2 separate regions of the Homo sapiens genome follow, and region 2 is linked to region 1. The links are contacts of gene promoters, found by promoter capture Hi-C in blood cells and fetal thymus (Javierre and others, 2016). All regions are on one chromosome and are shown on one strand. Each heading gives the region's core, a stretch centred on a gene start or on the middle of the fragment in contact. The rest is flanking DNA. Distances are from core to core; before and after follow the strand shown. Region 1 holds the start of KCNA3 (potassium voltage-gated channel subfamily A member 3). Region 2 overlaps LOC124904296 (a long non-coding RNA gene).

Region 1 (4,256 bases), core at 130-2,629:
AGACCGCGCTGGAGAAAAGGATGACCCCAATAAAGAGGAAGAAGATGAGCAATCCCAGCTCCCGCATGGACGCCTTCAGCGTTTGCCCGAGGATCTGCAGCCCCTTGGAGTGGCGCGACAGCTTGAAGATGCGGAAGACCCTTACCAGGCGGATGACCCTCAGGATGGCCAGAGACATGGCCTGCTGTCCATTGCCCTGTCGTTCGGCCAGCTCGGTACCCAGAGTGATAAAATAAGGAATGATGGCCACAATGTCGATCAGGTTCATGATGTTTCGCGAGAAGGTGGCTTTGCTAGGACAAGCGAAGAACCGCACCAGCAGTTCGAAGGAGAACCAGATGATGCACAGCGTCTCCACCACGAAGAAGGGATCGGAGAAGCTGGAGGCTCCTGCGCGGGACCCCGACGTGCTGTTGCCGGCTGCTTCGAATGAGTCCTGCGACGTCGAGGCGGGGTAGTCCTTCTCGTCGCGGAACTCCGGCAGCGTCTCCAGGCAGAAGATGACAATGGAGATGAGGATGACCAGCACGGACACGATGGCGATGCCCCGGGCCGGCCCGGAGCTCTCGGGGTACTCGAAGAGCAGCCACACCTGGCGCTGGAAGTCGCGGCGGGGCAAGGGCCGCTCCTCCTCCCGCAGGAAGCCCTCGTCCTCGCGGAACTTCTCCATGGCCTCCTCGCCCAGCTGGTAGAAGCGGATCTCCTCGGAGAAAATGTCGATGGGCACGTTGACCGGCCGGCGGATGCGGCCCCCGGACTGATAGTAGTAGAGGATGGCGTCGAAGCTGGGCCGGTTGCGGTCGAAGAAGTACTCGTTGCGGAGCGGGTCGAAGTACCTCATGCGCCGCTTGGGGTCGCCCAGCAGCGTCTCGGGGAACTGGCAAAGGGTCTTCAGCTGCGTCTCGAAGCGCAGCCCGGAGATGTTGATGACCACGCGCTCCCCGCAGCAGTCCTGCTCGCCCGCGGCCGGCAGTGAGGGCGGCAGCGGCTCGTAGCGGTCGCAGCCGCCGCCGCCACAGCCGCCTTGAGGCGGGGCCCCTCCACCATCGGCCACCTCCGGCTCCAGCAGGTGGTCCCCGGGCACCACGGTCATGTCGGGCGGCAGCTCGCGGCCTGCGGCGGGCTCCGCGTAGCCGTGGTTCACCAGCGTGTGGGCACCGCCGCTGCTCGCTGGGCGCTGAGGAGGGTGGGCGCGGTGGCGGGCTGAGGGCGGCGGCGGCGAGCGCAGAAGGCTGAGGCGCTCGTCCATGCGGCGGGGAAGAGGCGGCAGCGGTGAGGCCAGGTCGCTCCTCCTCGCGCTCCCCGCCCTTTCGCCGCCTCCGCCCCCGAGCCGAGCCCACCGCCTGTTGCAGCCAAAGCCGCGATGCTCTGTCTGGGTCTGGCGCGGTCAGCCGGGCTCCCGCACGGGGACGCCTCCTCCCTCCTTCTCGCGCTCTCCGCCCCCTCCCCTGCGGGGCGCGCGCCCGCCTCCGCGTCCCCTTAGGATTCCCGCCCACCGCGCGGGCGCGCGTCCCGCTCTCGGGGGCAGCCGCCGGGCCTGCATTTCTTGCAGCCCTCAAGGCCCCTCGGTGTCAGCGAAAGAGCCCTCATGTTGTACCTCGGCGCCCCGCGGGAATGCCCACCCAGCAGAGCCGGCCCACGGGGAGTCAGGCTGCCGGCCCGGGCCCCTAGGCTCCGCCCGCTTCTGGTCAGCGCCCCTCGCCCCCGGCCCGCCTGGCCGCGTCCCAGTCGCCAGGGTTTTCGGCCCGTGGGCCGGGAGAGCTCCCGCCGCGGCCCCGCGGGCGCCGGCCCCCTGGCCTCCACACCCCTAGGTACAGCCCGGGGAGGGCAGGCGGGCCCAGTGTCCAGGGAGGGAGTGCAGGCCAGGCGGGCGCCCTGGGCCAGAGGCAAGCCTGGCGCCGGCATCCCAGGTTCCCTTGAGGGTCGAGGACCGCCAAACCCTGGGGAGGAGCGGGGGTTTAAACAATTTAGCTTCTGCTAGGATGCGAAGCCAAAGGGAGTAATGGGTGCTGATGGGCTTCGCAAACGGAGTCCGAAGGAAATGGATTGTTAAAGGCGTTCGGGCCCTGCTGCTTTAGTGAATAGTTCACACCCGTTTTCGCAGCGGAGATGTCGGCCACTGGGAAGAATCAAGGACCAAGTTTCTGATTGGGATTAGCAGTGACAGCCTGGTCTTTATCCACTACACAGGTTTCCTGTTGGCGGGGAAATAAGAGGAAAAATGGGAAAGGAAATTCACGAAGTCGAAGTTGTGTGGTTAGAAAGTCCAGCTTTATGACTCAAGCCTGTCGTGGAAGGGATGAGAGCAGGACCTGTACCTAGACTTTTTACTTAATATTTTGGCACTGCCCTTGTGGTAGGGAATTTGCAGCGCTCTAGTTGTTAAACTGGAAGGACATTCATTCTGCAACTTGTACCTCTTGCTTGATCTGGGCCCAGAGATAACTTACATGTATCTTCTTTAAACTTATTTTTCCAAATTATTGTGGTTACTTTGAACACAATTTGTTTCCAGAAATTTTAGCAATCTAATATAACTCAACCCTAGGCTTTAAAAAGTCTGTTTTTTATTGTATCATTCAAATCATTTACAGAAGAGGAACTATTGTCTAGACAGCTCCTCACCCACCCAAAGTTAGCTGACAATTCAATTTTAAGTAAGTGATTTGTGGTCAATACTTCCCACCACCACTCCCAACCATGGGGTTCTCTAGGGCACAGAGTAGGTCCTAGCCAACTTATATTTCTAGCAACTACCAAAGTGCCTTGTAAATGGTGGAGACTTGGTACATACTTGTCAGATTGAATTCCCCAAGGAGTGTCTCTTTGCGTTGCTATCTGCTCTGGAGTTTCAACATTTCTTCTTTTTGAGCCCAAGATGCTGCTGTGATTCCTAGGATGAGGAGTGAGGAAAAACTGAGCTCACCATAGAAAACACTGCTCATTTATTCCATAGGATTTCCACCTCCGGCTCTCCTGGGCACAACAGGCACCCATGTCCTTTTATTGTCCCTTCATCTTCCGTTTCACCTCCTGGTCAGTGCCAGACAATGCAGGCAGTCACTTATGTTGTGGAATGGCAAAACTGGGCAACCACGTAAAACTCTTTCTCTTACAAAACTCCAGAACACTGGAATGTGACAGCCACCTCATTATTTTGCGTATATATTTTGAGCTGGTGATTAGAGTAGCAGTATAATCAATCATTCATATATTTAAATCTTAGAATGAGACAGACTGCTTGCTGCAATGATAGCTCATGGAAAGGCAAAGACCCTATTTTTAAAGACCAGATGTTTCATGTACTTCTATGTCTGACTTAGAAAATGATTTATTCCTTCTTTTGCAGGAATTAGTACTGAAATTAATATTAATCAATGGCAAGGAAGACCAGAGCAGAGGATAGTCCTGTGACAAATGGTCACAAGCTTCTCCCAGCTGTGAAATGTCTTTCCTTCATAAGTGACTATTTCCATTCCCTTTCATGTATTTGCCTTGTCTGGAAGACTTTGATTATGTGCTTCTTAGGACACATATAAAGTCCTTACTTTGTATTTGGGGCCCAGAGAAGTTTAGCAATTTGCTTAAGCTCACATAGCTAGTTAGCAGCAGAGCTGGGCCTAAAATCTTGGACCATTTCCAAATCCAGTGTTTGCTTTACTGTATCACACTGTGCAACGCTTGTGTTGATCACTGTGAGTACTTAATATACTAGATTTCTAACAGCAGCCTATTTGCTTCTGATTGCCGACTAGTTCACTTCAATTCATATTTATCTTAACTGAAAACCACTCCTTCTGACGGCTCGTCTGTTGTCTATAGAAAATGAGTTGGTGGGCTCATTCTAGCCCTGTTGGACAGCCGAACCCATCACAACAAATCAATGCCAAAAATGGCATTTCAAGAGGAAAACATAGCATTTATTTAGTACCCCCAACAGAGTAGCTCAAAGTGATTTGAAAATGTCTCATTAATCCTCATAACACCCCTGTGGGATAATAATAATATTATTATAACGTTTAGGCGTAGAACTGTGGCAAAGCCAACAGCTTCTCTGAGCATGTGCAGGATTTCCTCATATTTCAGTCTGCAATACTAGAGCCTGACTAAAACCGTCAGGTTTGCAAACAGCAAGGGTAAATAAATCTTGGTGTTTGGCCTTTCTGTGTTGCTCTAGGCATAGTTTGTGTTTCCTACTGACCACATCAATCCCAGAAATAGTTCACCAGTTGTTTGCCAGATGGTAAGCAGCATTT
Region 2 (3,880 bases), core at 398-2,897, 84 kb after region 1:
ACAAGCAAGTCACCGAGGCCAGCCCAAATTAAGAGGAAGAAATATAGAGTCCATTTCTTGATGGAAAGAGCATCAAAAATTTTAAATCGCATTTTATAATCTTCACAGCAGTCTAGGTGGGGATTACCAATTTTATTCATCTTTTCTAATAATAAATGTTTGCACTGATTTTATCTGTTTGTCCATTTTTTATTTAATTGATTTCTGTCCTTATTTTTGTTACTTATTTTCTTCTACTTACTTTAGATTTAATTTGCTCTTCCTTTTCCAGCTTTTAAGATGGAAGTAAACTTAGATCACTGATTTTATGTCTTCCTTCTTCTTATGATAAAGACATTGACAACTACCAATTTCTGAAGTATTATAAATTTGTATTTTGTTGTCTGTTTGTTACATAGTCTGTACTGTAGGTTCATACAGGCAGCCAGCTTCAGGGTGCCAGCAGGCCATAGGAGTTAGAACTGACTACACTGCTCTTTTCTAGAGTATACTGGTTAAGAGCATAGACCTGAAGCCATGTTGTCTGGGTTTAATCCCACCTTGGCACTCACCAGCTACATGATCTTGTCAAATTGCTTAGCCTCTTTGTGCCTCCATTTCCTCTCAAATCATAGATTAACAGATTACTGACAGGCTGAATTCAAATCTATTAAGTAAAATAATGTGTAAAGTGGGGATGGTAATCATGATATCTACCTCAAAGGTTGTTATGAGGGTTAAAGGAGTCGGGATTTGTAAAGTGTTCAGAATACAATTTAAAAATATATTTCTCAGTACTCCTGTTATATTAAAATAGGAAGGCAAATAGGAGGCTCATTAAGCCATTCAAATGATTACTACATGAGTCAGGCAACTGTGCTGGACATCAGTCTTACCATCTAAAGTCACTCTAAAGCTCTACTGTCATTTACTTTCAACATTTTAGGATAACAGCATCATATGTTCTATAAAATTTACAGTTACTGTCTTTGTTCTTGCAACTATTGATTGTTACTAAGTCTTAAGTACCAGGCTAAGTCTATTACATATAGAATATTATTTAAACCTCACAACATATCTTCAAAGATGCCAACTTAGATGGTACCTAGAGGTGAATTAGCCATCACTGTCCCACCTCTGAGTCTCCTTAAAACAAGGACTGCTCTCTTAATCCCCACTCTAGTTTCTTGTCAAGACTAACTAGGGCAGTTTTCCAGTTGGTGCCTCTGGAAATATTGGACATCCTGATTTTTCAGCTGTCTGGAATTGATGGAAAATGTAGTTTCAAGCCAGGGAAGATAATAGAGCGTAGGGGTTAGAAGCAGAAGCTTTGCAATCGGACAGATCTGAGTTGGAGTCCTGACTCTACTCTTTACTAGCTATGTGACCTTGAGAAAGTTCTTTAACATGTAGTCAGCCAACCTTTCATTCATTCCAAAAATATTTACAAGCATCTGTGCAATTCCAGGCTCTGTTCTAGGCTCTGGGGAGACAGCTGGTAATGAAAGAGACTGCAGTCTCTGCTCACATGAGCTTTACATTCAGTGGTTTTATGACTTCTTTATAGGATTGTGGGGAGCTTAATTGGGATAACATAGGTAAAATGCTTAGTGTAGTGCCACTGGAACATATTTGAAAAGGAATAATGTCAGGGAAAATGCAGACACCTTCCTGAATTTTATATTGTTTTCAGACATCTTTTGCCTGACAATAGTGTAGAGGAGTTGCCTTCCAGAATAGCAGTGATTTTTGGAATAACTGATCTGAGGATTGTTCTTCCTTGGCCTCTTTTCAAAGGTGACCAAAAGATGGAAACATACCTAGGATCTTTTATTATAGCAATTTAAAAATATTTATGATAGCTTGTAGAATAATTTGAGAGTAAATTTCATATACGCCTCAACCAAGGAGCCAGCATTACTGGTCATTTAATTGTCCATCCTTCATTGTTTATCTCAATTCTTCAGAAAAATATTCTAGACAAGACTGAAGGTCAGCATTTCATCTTTAAGCTTATTCTAAACCTAAATATTATTGCCCTAAATCTGACTGTACATATAAGAGTAATAAAGGTATTAAGTGGATAAAGAAGATTAATATGGAATGAACCTCTCTATAATTCAAAACAGAAACTACCAATATCTGTAAATTCATACTCTATCTTCCTTCCTTTCACAGTGTACAGACATTACCTTTATCCTATAAAAAATCAGCCCCTCAGATCTTATTCCACTTCTTATCTGCATTATATCCATTTCCTTGGTCATTTGTTTCTCCCCACTAGACTATAAGCTTCTTAAGGGCAGGTGCCATGTTTCACATCTTTATGTATTTTGTTCATATCCTAATGCCTGGCATAGAGTTGGTTTTCGATGTGTGTTTATTGAATTGACTTGAAATGACATAGATTTCCTCTCAAATAATAGACTAATAGATTATTGGCAGGCTAAAATCAAATTCTTCTAACTCTTTCATCTGTTGATTTTATAAAGATTTCTAAAAACATCAAAATGATGGTAAATTTATTTTAAAACACTTTGAATGAAATTTAGCTAAATCAATCCAAAGGCTTAAGTTTAGATAGCCTCACAAAGATGTCATCTCAAACAATGAATTTATCATAGATTCCAGTGAAGAAACATTATTACAAAATCAGAAGTAGTACCTGCCTAATAATGTATATAATTCCACATTAAACGGTTTAAAATGTGCTCTTATTAACTACCACCTCTTTTTTTAGCTTATTTATTTAAACAACTTGACATAAGTATTATTAGATAATCTGATTGCACATTCTCTGGTTATAACAAACAGGAGGACAGACATTATCTTTTATTTGAGTACATATTTTTATAATTTTCAATTGGATGTGAATATATAAAGAGGCTTTAAAAGCTGCTGAAACTTTTGGTTATTTCAGGAAGATTAGTGGAGAATTAATAAGAAAGGAAAAGTTAAAATTTAATCTGGAAAACTTGGGGGCAGGTGTATGCGCTAAAGAATTGGGGGATAAGGGTCACTCAACAAATATTTATTGAGCACTTACTATGTGCGAGCCACTATCCGAGTCTTTTAGATACAGAGAACCCTGCTCTTGCAGAGCTGACATTTAAGTTGGGAGAACATTCATTCAAAGAGATTCTAGTAATAATGACTTTCAAAAGGAACCATTGGATCTCCATTTCTTAGCTTCCTGGAGCTTCTTCGCCCTGTTGAAATGTGAACAGTCCCTTTCTACCTATAAACCCCACAGATTCAGAGAAATTAAAAAGGAAAAGCATGGTCTAGCACAAAACAGGTGCTGTTATAACCTTCCCGGGGTGCAGAGCACCTACTTGTCTTGAGAGGCTACTCAAGTAACTTCCCTGAACAGAAAAATGTTTCAAGGCAATTCTCTCTGTCTATACTAGAATTGACTGGCAACATCCCTGATACAATAAATAATAATATATAGAAGAAAATAAATGCTTCTGTTTCCACAGGCATCTCTATAACATATCTGTCTCAAAAAGATCACAGCAAAAAATAAAGGAGATAATGTAAAGTGTCTAGCATGGTGCCTGGCAAGAGGTTAGCACTAAACACTTAAACATGCACGCACACACAGTCTTCCTCAGCTGCAATGAGAAATATACGGGCCCTGCCTCTGACAGAGAATGTAAATCAGGCTCCTAATTATTCAGCAGAGGCAGTGGGCTCCACCTCCTGCACATCTGGTGTGTGTAAAGCATGTGAATCCCTCTTTAATCAGCAACTCAGAATAATGGCATTTCCAACCCTCATCAGAGAATTCAACCAGGAATTGATTGTGATGAAGCTCTTGCCAAATGCTTGCTGGGACAGTTGATATTTGAGAGAAACTGCCTAATGAATTTGTTATCTGTATGCATTATTTTTCTAG

Evidence for each region. Contacts are between HindIII fragments. The CHiCAGO score rates a contact against its expected background, and 5 or more counts as called.
Region 2: a contact is called between a fragment that was not itself captured here and the fragment with the promoter of KCNA3 in region 1, in 1 of 17 cell types (megakaryocytes). The highest score is 6.1, in megakaryocytes.

The regions. Positions count from the first base shown.
Region 1 is chr1:110,673,561-110,677,816 of GRCh38, forward strand. It overlaps KCNA3 (potassium voltage-gated channel subfamily A member 3), which reads right to left and starts at 1,380. Exons shown (of 1, transcript NM_002232.5): 1 at 1-1,380. The coding sequence starts at 1,249. RefSeq lists silencers at 1,116-1,215, 1,326-1,375, 1,446-1,505. The HindIII fragment of the contact is 4,711 bases long and covers 1-3,426 here.
Region 2 is chr1:110,756,865-110,760,744 of GRCh38, forward strand. The region is part of intron 1 of LOC124904296 (a long non-coding RNA gene); the gene reads right to left. Among named protein-coding and RNA genes, the nearest start is that of KCNA3, 84 kb to the left of the region's middle. The HindIII fragment of the contact is 684 bases long and covers 1,306-1,989 here.